Linked DNA regions of Homo sapiens: region 2 is linked to region 1. Evidence: promoter capture Hi-C in human tissues and cell types (Jung and others, 2019). All regions are on one chromosome and are shown on one strand. Each heading gives the region's core, a stretch centred on a gene start or on the middle of the fragment in contact. The rest is flanking DNA. Distances are from core to core; before and after follow the strand shown.

Region 1 (3,220 bases), core at 357-2,856:
ATAAGTTCAAGGATCGATTGTACAACCTGGTGTCTATAGTTAATAGCTATGTATTATATACTTGAAAACTGCTGAGAGGAGACTTTAAGTGTTCTCTCCATAAATAGGTGAGATAATGCATATATAAATTAGCTTGATTTAGCCATTCCACAATGTGCATAGATGTCAAAACATCGTGCTGTACACCATAAATGTATACAAGTTGTATTTGTCAATTTAAAAAATAAAAAAATGCCAAGGGGCCAGTATCATTATCCTCATTTTCCAAATAAGAAAACAGGCTCAGAGTGGATGTCTGAGGGCTTGAATGTGGCAGGACCCAGAACTGCTCACGGCCCCGTGACTCCAACACTCTTTGCACAGCTGTGCACAGCTCTCCTTGCAATGCCCAGAGAAGGTTATGCCCTCCACAGCTACAAAGATATTGGGTCTTCTGTGGCAAAACCCTGGTGACAGTGGATGCCCTGGGGTGACCACGCCGTCTTCCATCTGAATGTATCCTCCTACTGTCTGCTGTGTTAGAGATGAGGCATTATGAGAAGGAGAAACTATTTGTCAAATGTAATTAACAATTAGAAATGACCTAAATGTCTAACGGTAGCAGATTGGGTAAATAAATAATCATAGAGCCACATAAGAAGTACTATTTGGCTGTTCAGAACAATTAAGTAGAAGAGTATTTAATTTCATGGAAATGCTCCTGACATATTGGTACATTAGAAAAAGCAGACTGCCTAAGCAGTGAGCATGGTACAATTCCATTTTAACAACAACAACACACATATCATAACGAGTCAACATTTATATACCCATACTCATATTCATAGCAGCATATTCACAATAACGAAAACATAGAAGCAAACCAAGTGTGCATCGATGGATGAATGGACAGGGAAAATGTGGCAGATACACACGATGGAATATTATTCAGCCTTAAATGGGAAGAAAGTTCTGTCACATGCTACCAAATGGATGAACTGTGAGGACACTGCGCTAAGTGAAGTGAGACAGTCACAAAAAGACAAATACTGTATGATTCCACTTATATGAGGTGCTTAAAGTAGTCAAATTCATAGAAACAGAAAGTAGAATAGTGGTTACCAGGGGCTGGGCGATGGGAAGAATGCGGAGTTAGTGTTTAATGAGTACAGAGTTTCAGTTTTAGGGGATGATAAGTTGCTGGACAGCACAGCTGTCCATAGGAACCAGCCATAAGCCACTGGGGCTTGCAGTGCACTGGAAATGTGGCTCGCCTGAATTGCGATGGGCTATAAATGTAAAACCCACTGTAGATTGTAAGACTTGGTATGTAAAAAAGAATATAACTTTTCTCATGAAGGATTTTTTTTTTTTTGAGATGGAGTCTCGCTCTGTTGCCCAGGCTGGAGTGCAGTGGCATGATCTCAGCTCACTGCAACTTCCGCCTCCTGGGTTCAAGAGATTCTCCTGCCTCAGCCACCCGCATAGCTGGGACTACAGGTTTGTGCTACCAGGCCTGGCTAATTTTTGTATTTTTAGTAGAGATGGGGTTTCTCCATGTTGGCCAGGCTGGTCTCGAGCTCCTGACCTCAAGTGATCTACCTGCCTGGGCCTCCCAAAGTGCTGGGATTACAGGCATAAGCCACTGCGCCTGGCCTCACGAAGGATTTACCAAAAAAAAAAAAAAAAAAAGATTTGGCTGGACACAGTGGCACACGCCTGTAATCCCAGCACTTTGGGAGGCCGAGGCGGGTGGATTGTCTGAGCTCAGGAGTTTGAGACCAGCTTGGGCAATATGGTGAAACCCCATCTCTACTAAAATACAAAAAATTAGCCGGGCGTGGCAGCGTGCACCTGTAGTCCCAGCTACTCAGGAGGCTGAGGCAGGAGAATCGCTTGAACCCGGGAGGCGGAGGCTGCAGTGAGCCAAGATCGCACCACTGCACTCCAGCCTGGGTGAGAGTGAGACTCTGACTCCAAAAAAAAAAAAAAAAAAAAAAAAAAAAAAATGGAAATGATAATCTTTTGGATGTATGGGATTAAATAAAATATATTATTAAAATTAGTTTTACCTTAAAAAAAAACTTTTGAAAAGTTAAAAATTCAGTGGCTCCAAAACTCAGAAGTCTACACCACACACATTAATCTCTCATTTAAGCCCCATGCCGGTGCAGCCAGTGCGGATCCTCAGAAGGCTCTGCTGGTCACCGGGGCCCTGGCGGAGGGTGCAGCTGCCATCTCATCACTGTCAGTCGCCCTGCTAGTGGGACAGTCGCAGCTCTAGAGGATATGGCACCCTCAATTAAATGCTTGGGACTCGAAGTGACAGTTGTCATTTCTGCTCACAGCTTATTGGCCACAGCTAGTCACACGGCTCCACTCAACCACAAGGGGGCGGGGCAATCTCACCAAGTGCCCCAAAGGCAGCGATCTGGAACTATTTGGCGAACAGGGCAAAATGACTAGCTCCGTGCAGCTTTTTTATTTCTTTAAAATACATAGAATAGAATAATTTTTAAAACGTAGAACGGAATAAAATAAGAAATATAGTATGTTTAGAATTTTTAATTTAAAACTTTAAATATTAGGTTATGTTTAATTTTTTTTTATATCATGTGTGAGGTACAATAAATATTTGTGGAATGTTGACAGTTCTTTCTGAAAAGGGATCACAGCTATAATGAATATGACTTTTTGGCTTTATTACTAACAAAGTGCTTGCCCGGGGGTCATCTCATTTAAGGTATTATGGGCCTCTTTGCAGATGAAGAAACTGATCTAAGACAGATGAGTGACCTCCCCAGGTCACCCAATCAAGTGGCAGAAGTGGGACTTGGGAACAAGTAAGATAACCCATGAGACTTCTTCTTCAAACCCCAATATTTCTTCTCTTTCCTATATCAACCTCAAATCTTAAGCTTGCTATTCTTTACTTCGTTTAATAACACTAACATTTAACATACTGAGTACTATCATCACTGCTAAGGAAACTAATGCTCAGAGGAGGAGACTTGCCCAAGGTTACGTGTCCCTGAAGAGGCAAGACTTGGATTCGAATGTGGATTTATGAGAATCAAAGCTACAACCACAATGCCCTTCTGCCACTCTGGCTTATTGACCTGCTTCTAGAAAAAAACTTGAATGGCATAGGGGATAAGTTTTAAGGGGACTTCCCATGATTGTATGGTCCAGGTGGTGTTCACCCAGCAACACCTGCCTGATGCCTTCAGCCCTTCTTACC
Region 2 (3,220 bases), core at 282-2,781, 270 kb before region 1:
TAAACCTCCTGAGTGGTAAGAACGTGTCCATTTAAAAACAGGCTATAGATTGTCATGCAGTTTTATCTACTAATCGGCTAATGCACCGCCAAAAACAAACAAAAAAACCCAAAGGGATGAAAGTTTCATCCATCAAAGGAAACAACAGTCACCTTGGTTCCCATCCCACTCATATACTGCCGCCGTACATGTCAATCAGATGAACCTGTGCGTATCTCTTAACGACAATTGACCCACCTTTTTAACTGAAGTGAAGGGGGGTTCTGCTCCGCGACCACTTCCTGGATCTCTCCCTTCACCCTCTGTGTTCTTTCGGGTGCACCATCGGGTCAAAGCCGCAGCAACGCCGTCTCTGTGTGATCGCATGTGCCCTTCTGCACACGACCTTCCCCCGAGAGTGACCAGCTACCGGACAGGCACCAAGGAGGGCTACCGAGCACCTCCCGGACCGGCGGCTGCAGGATCGCGAGCGCCTCCGCTAGGGAGACCGCACGTTGCGCCTGTGCTTCCTGCGGTGGCGCCTTCTGCAAGGAGACCTCGACCCTGCTCCCTCTCCGGGGCTGGATCTGACTCCTTGACGGTGATTCCAGACGCGAGACCCAAACTGACGGCTTCTAGAAGAGGGGCGAGCCCGGCCGCAAGTCTTTCACGTAGCTAAGTCATCGTTGCTTCCGGCTTCTTACCGTTCTCCCCTTTGTAAACGGTTACCTCCCGAAAACCCAGGCTCTCCTCCAACAGTGGTTCTCAAGCGAGGCGATCTTCCCCGGGAGGGGATATTTGGCAAAGTCTGGGGGCATTTTTGGTTCACTGGGGCTGCTACTTGCATCCACTGGGTAGAGGCGGGGGATGCAGCTACACAACCTGCGAAGCACGGGACAGCACCCTCCCCAACCCAGACAGAATTAGCCGGCCCAAAACCTCAGTAGTGCCCAGGCTGAGAAACCCTGCCTTAAACAAACAACAAAGAAAGGCCAAGTCCCATAAGTGGGTCACCGCGCCGAGACTGGGGTCCACGGGACACCCCAGCCACGCCAAGCCGGGAAGTCCCCGCCTCCTGGAGCTGAACCCGCCCCTCTCCCAGAGGTGGAGCTGCGGGGGGCGGGAACAGGCACGGAGAAAATAAACAAGACTAAAAAGTCCTGAGTAGCGCTGTGTGGCCGCAAACCTGAACCCACCTTTTGCACCACGCGGGACCCGGCACTCTTCCTGCCACCCACCCCTGAGAGGGCTGCGCGGCCGACCCCAGTACTAGAAAACACTCGTCACCTCACTCAAGACGGGTACGAAGGCCAACGGACGCCTTCCTTTAGAACGCTCAGCACACAGAGCAACTTCTCACGCCTACTCTCAAATGGCGTACTCCAAACTAGCACTCCCGACGTCCAGCTGTGAACCCAGAGCGGCGGAAAGCCCCTGAACCCAGCGCCCGGGCATGCGCAGACGCGTTGTTGTGGTGGGCGTGGCTCCCTCCGGACCCGGCGCCCCGCCCTCCGCCCCGTGTCCGCATGCGCGACTGAGCCGGGTGGATGGTACTGCTGCATCCGGGTGTCTGGAGGCTGTGGCCGTTTTGTTTTCTTGGCTAAAATCGGGGGAGTGAGGCGGGCCGGCGCGGCGCGACACCGGGCTCCGGAACCACTGCACGACGGGGCTGGACGTAAGTGTCGGGCGGGGAGTGGGGGTAAGAGAGTAGCGGCCGCAGGCTGGAGAGGCCTCGGAGCCGGGGCCGTCTGACGGGCTGGTGCCCACAGCACAGGCTCGTTGCCGCCACCCTCCCGGAAGCCGCAGACCCGGGCTGAGCCGCCGCGGACCTCTCCTCTCCTGGGTCCGGCGGCGCCAGGAGAAGGCGACGGCGTCCAGACCCCGCCAAGACGGAGAGGGGACCGCGCCCTCCCCCGGGACACCCCAGGATCCCTGGAAAATCCCCCGATCCCCCACTTCACAGCTGGACAAGCCGAAGCCCCGAGAAAGGAGCGTGACCCGGCCAGCTCCCTCAGCGAGGGGTGCCCCGGCTAAAGGTGGCTCCCCCATCTTCCAGCGGCGTCCCTCGAGACCTAAAAGTCCCAGAGTTTGGAGGGCGGGGTCTGGCTTGAGCGTACCAGTCGTCGTGCAAAGAAAAATGGATTCGGGGTGGGGCCATTGGGATGAACCGAAAATAACACTTATTGAATTGCAGTTCTTCCCGGGGAAGAATCAAATGAGTGAATTTCCTAAATTGAACTTGTCCCAAAGGCATCTTAGCATTGGCTGTAATCATATATTTTAATATTTAATTTTTAAAAGAGAAGTTAAAAATGGGAGACGTTGCTCTATTGTAGGGTGTCATATTTTTGGACAACCATAATTGCTGGCTACAAAGTATCTTAAGGAAGTCAAGTTCGCTGTAGGAGTTTGGGTGTTGTTATTCGCAAGTTATATGTATTTCAGGCTTTTTCATACTCTGAAATAGAGATAACATGGCTGTATCTCAGGTCTCTACTGCTCGGCTTACAGGAATGTTTTATATAATTTGTAAAGACAGCTTGGGTCGGCTATATTTAAATAGCAGTTGGATTTTTGTAATCTGAATTACTATTAACCACGATTCTGTGCTTGCTTTTGGCTGGAAACACCCGTTAGGATCAGAGATAGGGATATTAAAGTGGATGTTCTTTATATAGAAATGACACCAAAAGGCAGGCTTGCAGAAAGAAAAATAATGAATGAAGTGAAAGGAAATGATGTGGGTAGAGGTAAGAACTGCAGTGCAGTGTTTAATTTCTTGATTTAGGTGTGAAGAAACACACGTTCTGTGATAAAATATGTAAATTAGAGAAATATTTTTCATTTGAATCTGTAATTCCACTCAGAGCCAAAGTTTATCACTTGTCTCTCTACTAATGTTAGTGCTCCTGGACTGTAAATATCAAATTCATTTAATAAGTTTGGAATCAAAATGATACAAAAGAGCTCCTGTGGATTAGTAATCATATACTTGGTATTAAAAGTACCACCTAAACTAATTTAATACCTACTTAGAAATAATAGGATGTGACAGATTTTCAGGAGGAGGTCAACCAGTAGTTAAAATTTTTTCAATATTTGGAGACCCACCTTTGTTAATACTGCTTAAATATATCCAAACCATTTATTTCTATTTATTTATTATTATTTTTGAGACAGAGTCTTGCTCTGTCGCCCAGGCTGGAGTGCAGTGGCACGATCTCGGCTCACTGCAACTTTC

The links. Contacts are between HindIII fragments. The study calls those that stand out against the background at their distance.
Region 2: the fragment with the promoter of TMEM50A here is called in contact with a fragment that was not itself captured in region 1 in 1 of the 25 tissues and cell types used here (dorsolateral prefrontal cortex).

Annotation. Positions count from the first base shown.
Region 1 is chr1:25,606,411-25,609,630 of GRCh38, forward strand. No RefSeq gene overlaps it. Among named protein-coding and RNA genes, the nearest start is that of MAN1C1, 8.8 kb to the right of the region's middle. The HindIII fragment of the contact is 7,929 bases long and covers 1-3,220 here.
Region 2 is chr1:25,336,803-25,340,022 of GRCh38, forward strand. It overlaps TMEM50A (transmembrane protein 50A), which reads left to right and starts at 1,532. Exons shown (of 7, transcript NM_014313.4): 1 at 1,532-1,654. It also overlaps a transcript of RSRP1 not described here. RefSeq lists silencers at 76-370, 1,362-1,481. The HindIII fragment of the contact is 15,215 bases long and covers 1-3,220 here.